4 separate regions of the Homo sapiens genome follow, and all the other regions are linked to region 1. The links are contacts of gene promoters, found by promoter capture Hi-C in blood cells and fetal thymus (Javierre and others, 2016). All regions are on one chromosome and are shown on one strand. Each heading gives the region's core, a stretch centred on a gene start or on the middle of the fragment in contact. The rest is flanking DNA. Distances are from core to core; before and after follow the strand shown.

Region 1 (2,624 bases), core at 73-2,572:
ATGGGTTTTAAAACATGAAACAAAACGTGGACATCATATCTCAATAAATTTTTTTTTTTTTTTTTTTAGACAGAGTCTTGCTCTGTCGCCCAGGTTGGAGTGCAGTGGCGCAATCTCGGCTCACTGTAAGCTCCGCCTCCCAGGTTCATGCCATTCTCCTGCCTCAGCCTCCCAAATATCTGGGAATACAGGCGCCCGCCACCTCACCCGGCTAATTTCTTGTATTTTTAGTAGAGATGGGGTTTCACCGTGTTAACCAGGATGCTCTCAATCTCCTGACCTCATGATCTGCCCGCCTCAGCCTCCCAAAGTGCTGGGATTACAGGCATGAGCCACCGCGCCCAGCCCAAAGATTATTTTTAAAATGGACAAAAGGCTTGTGTAGTCACTTCACAAATGAGGATACTTATATGGTCAATAAACATATAAAAAGGTGCTCATTATCATTAGTCATCATAGAAATACAAAGTAAAACTACGATGTGATACAACTACTTAGCCATCAGAAAACCTAAAAAGCCTGACAACACAAAGTGTGGGCAAGGATGCAGAGACTGGAACTGCCTTTCTCTGCTAGTGGGAGTATAAGTCGGTATAACCACTGTAGAAAACTGGTTGGTAGGAGCTACTAAAGTGAAACGGATATAGTCTATGACCAGGCAATTCTACTCGTGCATACATACACCACAGAAAATAATGCTTATTTCCTTAAAAAAAAAAAAAAAAAAAAAAAAAAAAAAAAAAAAAAAACATAAATGTCATAGCAGCTATTCATAGAAGGCCTAAACTTGAAAGACCCAAATGTTCACCAGTCACAGACGAAACTGTGAAATGAGCATAGAATAAAAAATAACTGATACACACAATGTGGATGTATCTCAGACTTACAACTAAAAACCTCTTTCTAACCCCATAAGCTGTACTCAGAGGCTTATGTTGCCATGTGTCACCTGGATCAAATTTTAAAACTGACTTAGTGATTTTAAGTATGCTTAATCTCTTTCCTGATGCCAATATTAATGTAAAAAATATTGAAATATTTCAATTTGAAATATTTGAAATTTACTATTTCAAAATAAATTCATGTGTATTGTAGAAAAATTAGATTCTACGGATTAACAACAACAAAACCCCTCACCCATGCTCCCACCGCACAGAAAGACCTGCTAACACTGTGCCCTGTACTCATCTGGATGCTTTTCTGAGCATTTCAAAAGCTGGAGTATTTTAACCGAATGTCAGCATGCACATACCTTCCAGAGTCAGCACTGGGAGCCACAGAGCAGATGGTGAGAGGTGAGGACCAGCGCGCAGCTTGAGGTGTGAAGCACGTCTCCCACTGGCTAATCTCCTTATCTTCTCTGGAGTGCTGCTCAGCTTGCTTCCTTCCTCCACAGCACTTCCATGCTCCCTGCTGGGCACGCACTGCCATCTGCATCCCTCACTCACCCCTGGAACCTGCCCAGCCCCTCTGTGGAGGGAGGCCTTGGCAGGTTTGACCTCTGTGTCTGCGCCCACTCACTGAGCAGCCCTCACATTCACCTGGGCCACATGTTCTTAACATTTCTCTATTTTGGTCTCCTTGCCACTGTCAGCTTTGTAGAACTGATCAAGACTGTGGGATGAGTGCCTCCCTTTCCCCATTTTTCCACACATAAACTCCTCAGCCTCCACAGGTCTCCCTGTCCCCAAACATGACCTACTTTTTCCCATGGTTGACTCCCCACCACACACACACAGTCCTCCAACGGGACTTTGCTCCTTCAGTTCTCTTCCCACCTCATCAGCAGTAGGATGAAGGCAGGGATGAGGAGGATGTGGCACCTGCCCTCTGGGGCTCACAGGCCTACAGAGGAAATGGGCAGCATTTCTGGCTTCCAGTCCAGGGTAAGTGCTATAAAACAGGCATAAATCCTGAGTTATGGAAGCCGAAAACCAACAGTGATGGCTCCTCATGGTGTGGGGAAGGTCTAGAAAGGGCATGGAGGCCGCAGCTCAGGATCAGAAACCCTGCCAATTCTCTGCCAAGTAGCCCCTCATTCTGACAGTGTGGAAGCGCCCTGGAGACACAGCCTAAGCCAGCACTTATGACATATTTACTTCTTCTCTAAACATTTTAATATACTTTAAATGAGATATTATGAATCTATAAAGATTCTAGCATCTTTCAGTATGACCGTAAAGAAAGGCATACAACTTGTACACTTAAGAGACATGTCATCTCCTCGCAATGAAAGAATCTGACCCAATTCATTTGGTAATTAATTTTATTGATTAAAGTATTACAAAGTTCTACTTTTCATTTTTTCATGTACAATGTATTGAAATGAACTAAACTCAATCACTTATAATATAAAAAGACATTATTATGTATTAGCAGGGTGATGCTTCATAATCATGTATTATTCCTACCTCTAAGACACCAGTCTGTATTATAGAATCACAGCTGTCACCTGTGACTGTCAGAAACAGAAGGTGCAATTGGGATTCTTAGGTTGGTGACAGAATAGCACTGGATCCACAGGCCAGAGACTAGGAGTGCTTATCAAATGAGGTTTTAGGCTCTGAAAGGAAGGAATGAGAAGGTGTGCCGGGACAAGGAATAGCCAGTTCCCATAAAACTTG
Region 2 (2,624 bases), core at 71-2,570, 300 kb before region 1:
TTTTCGCCTTGTGTCAGCTTAAGTGTTCACATACTAGATGTTATATATATGTACTTGAAACCTGACATTTCAGTTTGGTGGTATTAACCAAGAAAGCCATTGAAAATAGAGTATTAAATATTTTGTGTTTAATGGGTCAGCAAATGTAATAAGAACCACTCTACCTCACTAAATAATGCTAAACAGTATAAAAGCTAGTCCAACTTGGTTTTGTTGACATTTTATTATCACTACTACTAATTTTCAAGAAATACATAACAGTACTTACAAAGAAATTACATTATAAAATCAGATTCAGGAGATACCACAAAACTATTCAGCCCCTAAACCTTTCAGTCTGATGTGAAGTATTATATAGCCTAAAGCAAAGCTTTTCAGAAACTCATTTATAGGGGCCAGGTGTGGTGGATCATGACTGTAATTTCATTTTCTGAGGCTGAGGCAGGAGGATTGCTTGAGTCCAGGAGTTCAGGACCAGCATTGGAAACGTAGACCCCCATCTCTAAAAAATTTTAAAAATTAGCTGGGCATGGTGGCACATGTCTCTAGTCTCAGCTACTTGGGAGGCTGAGGGGAGGATGGCTTGAGCCCAGGAGCTTGAGGCTGCAGTGAGCTGTGATCACACTACTGCACTCGAGCCTGGGCAACAGTGCAAGACCCTATCTCAAAAAATAAATTCATGTATAGGGTGTTCTTAAATTAGCAAGGTGATACATGCCTTTGTAGCACATTTAAACAGTACATAAGTATTTATGGGAAGAGGTAAAAGTGTCTCTGTCTCCAGCCATCATGCCCTCTACTTCCCCAAACACCACCTACCCTGTTAACAATTTTGTATATACCCTTCCAGGCTTTGCACTGTTTATACTAATGTATACATATTATACATAGTCTCTTATTTTTTACAAAAAATCGATTATACTGTAAATATTTATTGCAACTTAATTTTTCAATAATAATTCTATTAGCTAATTTTTTTTTTTTTTTTGGAAACGGAGTCTTGCTCTGTCACCCAGGCTGGAGTGCAGTGGTACCATCTTGGCTTACTGCAACCTCCGCCTCTCAGGTTCAAGCGCTTCTCTTGCCTTAGCCACCTGAGTATCTAGGATTTGACAGGTGCACGCCACCTTGTCCAGCTAATTTTTTTTTTTTTTTTTTTAGTAGAGATGGGGTTTTGCGATGTTGGCCAGGCTGGTCTCGAACTCCTGACCTCAGGTGATCTGCCCACCTCAGCCTCCCAAAGTGCTGGGATTACAGGCATGAGCCACTGTGCCTGGCCAACTGTTTTTGAATGCTTACTGTGGGCCATGTTGTGTGCACAGCTCTTGGACGTGAAGTACTCTTATTAGCCCTGACAACAGTTCTATGAAATAGATATTATTATTTTTAATTTGCATGTGAGAAAGCTGACATTTTAAAATAATTGGGTAACCTCAATATTTTACACAAAGTCAGTGGTAAGGATTTTAACCCGTGTTATATAGTGTATCACTTAGCAGTCGACCGTGTTTTCTAGTTAATATGTATACATCTACATCATTCAGACATGTGTATAACATTCCTTTCTACGATGTTTTGTAATTTGACCATCCCCCTTCTCATTTTTAAGTTTTTATTGTAGAAATGTTCAAACACACATAGAAGAAGAGAGAATAATATATTCATTACCCAGTTTCCGCTGTTTTTAACATTTGCCAGCCTTGTTTTATTCATCTTCTGTCTCCCTTCCTAACCCTTCTACTTTTTTTTCTTGACGTATTTTAAAGCAAACCCTGTTCATTTGTATTACATACCTATAAATATTTCCATATGTGTGTCTCACAAATAAAGGCTTTTCTTTTAATGTAATCATGATGCCATCATCAAACTTAAAAATTAACGGTATTTTCTTCATATCATGTAATACCCAGTCTGTGTCCAGATTTCCTCTGTTCTCTCCAAAATGTCGTTTCATGATTGGCTCAAAAAAGGTTACACACTGCATTTGGTTGTTTGTCTTTTTAGTCTCCCTTAATTTCTTAACAGTTCTCCTCCCCAACCTCTTTCCTTTTTTTTTTTTTTTTCTGTGCCATTTATTTTTTAAGAAACTGGGTTTATTTTTCGTAGAATTTTCCACATTCTGGATTTGGCTGATTTCAACCTTATGGTATCATTTTATGTTTTTCTATCACCTATGTTTCTGTAAACTGTTAGTTCTAGTGGCTTGATGAGATGCAGGTGCAGGTCCCTTTTGGCAAGAATGCTTCATGGGTGGTGACTGAATCATATTAAGAAGCTTATGAAGTCTAATCCTTCCTCTTTGGGGGAATGAGATTGATCACAGGGTTCAAATGTAGGCAGCCTGACCCATCCTTTTTAAGTTTCCCATGAACCTTTTGCTTAATAATTCCTGCATCCCATTGACTGGATTCATTATTTCATTAAGGGGCAAGGCTCTTAAGATTTCTCTCCCCATTCCATCTTTCCCCACTCCACAGGATGTGTGGAATGGGGAAAGAAATCTTTTGGTTTTATAAAATTAGAACTATTCAATTTTCCATTCAATGAGGAAGTTCTTCCCTAGCTATCTTGAAGACTACCTTGCTGAACTTAAGTGAGAGGGATCCCACTCTCTGTTGTTTAGC
Region 3 (2,624 bases), core at 87-2,586, 300 kb after region 1:
TAAAACTGCAGAGAATGAAGATAAACCTTCCTTATACCACATAGAAAAATTAACTCAAAATGGACCAAAGACCTAAATGTTAAGAGCTAAAACTGTAAGACTCTTAGAAGAAAATACAGGAGGAAAACTTCATGATACTGAATTTGGCACTGATTTCTTGGAGCTGACACCAGGAGCACAGGCAATAAAAGAAAAAGGTAAATAAATTTAAAACCTCTCTGCATCGGCTGGGCGCGGTGGCTCATGCCTGTAATCCCAGCACTTTGGGAGGCCGGGGCGGGCGGATCACGAGGTCAGGAGATCAAGACCATCCTGATTAACACAGTGAAACCCCGTCTCTACTAAAAATACAAAAAATTAGCCGGGCGTGGTGGCACGCACCTGTAGTCCCAGCTACTCGGGAGGCGGAGGCAGGAGAACTGCTTGAACCCAGGAGGCAGAGGTTGCAGTGAGCCAAGATCGTGCCAGGGCACTCCAGCCTGGTGACAGAGCAAGACTTTGTCTAAAAAAAAAAAAAAAAACCAACCTCTGTGCATCAAAGGGCACAATCAACAGAGTGAAAAGGAAACCCACATAATGAAAGGAAATATTTGCAAATCATATATCTGATAAAAGATTCATACCCAGAATATATAAAGAATTCTACAACTCAGCTGTGCATGGTGGCTCACACCTGTAACCTCAGCACTTTGGGAGGCCAAGGCAGGAGGACTGCTTGAGCCCAGGAGTTCAAGACTAGCCTAGGCAACATAGTGAGACCTGTCTCTAAGTAAATTTAAAACAAAAATAAAAGAATTCTACAGCTGAACAGCAACAATGATGAACAACCTGATTTTAAAATGAGCAAAGACTTTGAATAGACGTTTCTCCAAACAAGATACACAAATGGCCAATAGGCACATGAAAAGATGCTGAACATCATTAATCATTAGGGAAATGCAAATCAAGCCTACAATGAGATACCATTTCACTCCTATTAGAATACCTACTATCAAAAAACTAGAAAATAACAAGAGTTGGACAGGATGTGGAGAAATTAGAACGATTGTGCCCTGGAGAAATTAGAACCTCTGCACCCTGGTAATGTAAAATGGTGCAGCCAGTACGGAAAACAGTATGGTGGTTCCTCAAAAAATTAAATATATAATTCCTATATAACCGAGGAATCCCACTTCTGGTTATATATCCAAAAGATTTGAAAGCAAGGTCTCAAAGAGATGCTTGTACACCCATGTTCACAGCAGCATTCTTCACAATAGCCAAAGGATGGAAGCAACCCATGTCCATCAATGGATGAATAGATTAAACAAAAATGTGGTGTATTTACTCAAAAGAATATTATTTGGCCTCAAAAGAGAAGGAAATTCTGAAAGATGTCACGACATGGATGAACCTTGAGGAAATTCTGAAAGATGTCACGACATGGATGAACCTTGAGGACATTACGCCATATGAAATAAGCCAGTCATGAAAAGACAAATACTATATGATTCCACTTATATAGGGTACCTAGAGTAGTCAGATTCATAGGGAGAGAAAGTAGAATAATGGTTGCCAGGGACTAGAGGGAGTGGGGAATAGGGAGTTATTGTTTAATGGGTACAGGGATATAGTTTTGCAAGATGAAGAGTTTTAGAGATTGGTTGTACAACAATATGTTGTTGTTGTTGTTGTTGTTTGAGACAGGGTCTCATTCTGTTGCCGAGGCTGGAGTGCAGTGGTGTGATGATCACAGCTCACTGCAACCTCAAACTCCTGGGCTCAAGCAATCCTCCCACCTCAGCCTCCCAAGTAGCTATAACTAGAGGTGCAGCCACCACATCCAGCTAATTTTTTTATTTTTTGTATAGACGGGGTCTCACTATGTTACCTAAGCTGGTCTTGAACTCCTGCGCTCAAGGGATCCTCCTGCCCCAGCCTCTCAAAGTGCTGGGATTATAGGTGTGAGCACCATGCCTGGCCTGGTTGTACAACAATATGAATGTACTTAACATTACTGACCTGTACACTTACACATGGTTAAGATGGTTAACTTACGTTATGTGTATTTTACAATTTAATTTTTTTAAATTTAAGTATACATTTACATTCTAAATATTTATTAAACGCCCAACCATCCAGCTGTTTCAAAAAAGGCACATCTCCAAAGATGACCTACGATGATAACTACATTGGGCCTTGGCTGTTGGATTATTCCTACCAAGTTGAATTAAGAGGGACTTAAGTAACTCATTAATTAGAACTTCATTACTAAGGTACTGAAGGATTTCATTGCATAGAAAATTAATGCATGTGGGGGTCTACAATTTTTAGTAGGGTTCTGATGTTTTCTATTAATATTTTGTTTTTATAGAGTCTTTAAAAAATAAGAAAACCCCACATTTCCACCTACATCATAATATCTAGTCACAATGACACTGTACCAACTCTAGATAATTAAAGCCAGCTTTTGCTCAGAGATCCCCGCCAGGGTTACCTCCTGAAAAGCAAGTAATGAACACTAAGCCATGTATTTTTTATTGGATTCTCTAAAGTAACATGAGTCAGGCTCCAAGTGTCAGAAGATCTGTCTCATGCTAACAAAAACAAAGATATTTACTGTTTAATCCCCTTTTATCCAAGTA
Region 4 (2,624 bases), core at 41-2,540, 280 kb before region 1:
CTAATTTTTAGTATATGCTTCCTTTCATCTTATACTTTTATCAATATTTATAAAAGTCATTTCTATAATAAAAGCAGTCTTTCTTGCTCAAAGTATTAAGGTGAACAATTGAATAGAGTACTGTGGTCGGGAGACTGATTTGAGACTGCAGAGCTGATGCTGGGTAGAGGGTCTGGACTTGTATTCATGTTCTGTCTCAGGGCAGCCCCTGGAGCAGGAGATGGCAGAGGCATTTACAGCTGCAGAAAACAGGGAGGAATGGAATCTGAGGTAGCCCTGGCCTCAAAATTCAGGCCTGGCTGTATCATTTACAGAGATTTTTCTGGAGGGAAAAGTCTCATTTCTGAGGAAGGCAAGGTGGCTAATCATTATTAATTTTTTTTAAACTTTTTGGGCCGGGCGCAGTGGCTCACGCCTGTAATCCCAGCACTTTTGGGAAGCCAAAGTGGGTGGATCACTTAAGGTCAGGAGTTCAAGACCAGCCTGGCCAACATGGTGAAACCCTGTCTCTACTAAAAATCAAAAAAGTAGCCGGGTGTGGTGGTGCACACCTGTAATCCCAGCTACTCAGGAGGCTGAGGCAGGAGAATTGCTTGAACCTGGGAGATGGAGATTGCAGTGAGCTGAGATCGTACCACTGCACTGCAGTCTGGGTGACAAAGCAAGACTCTGTCTCAAAAAACAAACAAACAAACAAACTTTTTGAAATTGAATTGCAATATGTCTGCTACTTTGGCTTGGGCTGGACAGTTTATCTAATAAGCAAGGCAGCTTCTTGTGTGCTATGGTAATAAGCCTTCTTAACAGGCTAAGCTTCCCTCATAAGAACTGTGGTGTTTCTCTTTTTTTTTTTTTGTTTTGGTTTGTTTTGGTTTTTTGGTTTTGTTTTGTTTTGTTTTTTAAATCAGTATCCAATGTTTTATAGGGGCCAAAGGTTAACTTTGCACTATTCCCTGTCAGTTAAAGGCCACTGATATTTTTCTAAGTTAGCAAGGCTCACTTGCTTGCTTTCTTGCCTCCCTTGCCTCCATCCCTCTCCCTTCCTACCTTCTCTATTTACCTATTTCTCTCCCTCCCTCTCTTCTCCTCTCTTTTTTTTTCCCCGCATATGCAGCTTTTTGATTGTACTTGATTTTATAGAGACTGCACAGTTCCAGCAAGATTGGGAGTCAGGCATGGAGCAGGCATCTCAGGCTACCAGAAAGAATTGGTCACCTAGACTTTCAGTCAGGCATCCTCGTTTGCATTGTCCTGTAAGTCAATTAGTTGATAAATAGTTCCCCCTTCATCCCTTAAGTTTTGTTTTTGTTTTTGTTTTTAATATAGGTAAGTGGGACTCTACCTAAAATTTTGCATCATACTTATGGGTAATATCTTTTTCATATATTATTTATCAAAGTATGAAGTTGAGTATTTTGCTTGTACCATTTCAATTCTGCATTATAGTAGTTCATTGTATAACTGAAAGAAATGATTTCTTCATAAGTGACATTAAATATGAACATTCATCCAATTGAATTTACAAAATCTTTCCAAAATTATAAGGGAGAAAAATCGGGTTTACTTCAATCTTTAAAAATCTGGCACCTCTTAGTAACTTTCAGTATTTCTAAATTGCTCTAAAATTTTATAATAAATAGATTAGGGTTTTGCAATAGTCTTAATTTTTAAGCCAAAGGTTTTCTGAGACCTTAGGTTTTGTAGTCTAACCAGCTTATGTGGTTATTTAAAAGAATATTCTTTGTGTTTTTAAATTGCTATTTTTAAAAAAGCTTTTTATTACCCATTTTATAAAATGTTATACTCATATTTGTCTGAATTTTTCCAGTATTCCTACATGAAATTGTATGTATTAAAAACTCAATATTAGTGGCAAATATTAATACTATTAAAATGGATTTTGGTGCTATATTCTTGTAGCTAAAGCCTAGTAGAATTCTCAAGAATAGGTGAAATACACTTTCAAAGTTGCCTGTCATTTAAAAGACCAAATAAGCATTTTGTATTAAATAAATTAGCAGATGGTTAGAGACTTCAAGGAGAGTTAGCTTGGTCATTTAATTGCGACTTCATGTTATTTGATTGAAATAACCCACATCCTTGCTTTGTATAAGATATTCGCTCTGGAGAAGTTACATGTAAATAGAATTCTATAAATTGTTTTCCAGTTGACCGAGTATCTGTTGTGTTTTTGTTTAAAAAGAGGATTCCATGACATAATAAAAATTATTTTAAAAAATGTTTTGGGCCGGGTGCGGTGGCTCACGCCTGTAATCCTAGCACTTTGGGAGGCCGAGGTGGGCGGATCACCTGAGGTCAGGAGTTCGAGACCAGCCTGACCAACATGGAGAAACCCTGTCTCTACTAAAAATACAAAATTAGCCAGGCGTGGTGGCACACACCTGTGATCTCAGCTACTCGGGAGGCTGAGGCAGGAGAATCACTAGAACTCGGGAGGCGGAGGTTGCAGTTAGCTGAGGTCGCGCCATTGCACTCCAGCATGGGCAACAAGAGTGAAACTCCGTCTCAAAAAAAAAAAAATTTTTTTTTTTTTATAAAATGTTACTCATATCATATTGTACGTTATATTTAACTCTTGCTGTCATTAAAATAAGATGACAACA

The links. The method cuts DNA at HindIII sites, captures the fragments that hold promoters and counts their contacts. A CHiCAGO score of 5 or more calls a contact.
Region 2: a contact is called between a fragment that was not itself captured here and the fragment with the promoter of GNB5 in region 1, in 4 of 17 cell types (naive B cells, total B cells, activated CD4 T cells and 1 more). The highest score is 5.8, in naive B cells.
Region 3: a contact is called between a fragment that was not itself captured here and the fragment with the promoter of GNB5 in region 1, in 1 of 17 cell types (total B cells). The highest score is 5.7, in total B cells.
Region 4: a contact is called between a fragment that was not itself captured here and the fragment with the promoter of GNB5 in region 1, in 9 of 17 cell types (M2 macrophages, total CD8 T cells, naive CD8 T cells and 6 more). The highest score is 7.6, in M2 macrophages.

What each region holds. Positions count from the first base shown.
Region 1 is chr15:52,190,070-52,192,693 of GRCh38, forward strand. GNB5 (G protein subunit beta 5) reads right to left here and starts at 1,323. Exons shown (of 13, transcript NM_016194.4): 1 at 1,253-1,323. MYO5C (myosin VC) reads right to left here. Exons shown (of 41, transcript NM_018728.4): 41 at 2,253-2,624. The region is part of intron 2 of CERNA1 (competing endogenous lncRNA 1 for miR-4707-5p and miR-4767); the gene reads left to right. RefSeq lists an enhancer at 1,421-1,920. The HindIII fragment of the contact is 7,593 bases long and covers 1-2,624 here.
Region 2 is chr15:51,889,198-51,891,821 of GRCh38, forward strand. All of the region lies in intron 5 of TMOD3 (tropomodulin 3), which reads left to right. Among named protein-coding and RNA genes, the nearest start is that of TMOD3, 61 kb to the left of the region's middle. The HindIII fragment of the contact is 1,905 bases long and covers 369-2,273 here.
Region 3 is chr15:52,489,058-52,491,681 of GRCh38, forward strand. The region is part of intron 1 of MYO5A (myosin VA); the gene reads right to left. Among named protein-coding and RNA genes, the nearest start is that of MYO5A, 39 kb to the right of the region's middle. The HindIII fragment of the contact is 4,333 bases long and covers 1-2,624 here.
Region 4 is chr15:51,909,900-51,912,523 of GRCh38, forward strand. TMOD3 (tropomodulin 3) reads left to right here. Exons shown (of 10, transcript NM_014547.5): 10 at 1-2,624. Among named protein-coding and RNA genes, the nearest start is that of LEO1, 61 kb to the right of the region's middle. The HindIII fragment of the contact is 959 bases long and covers 812-1,770 here.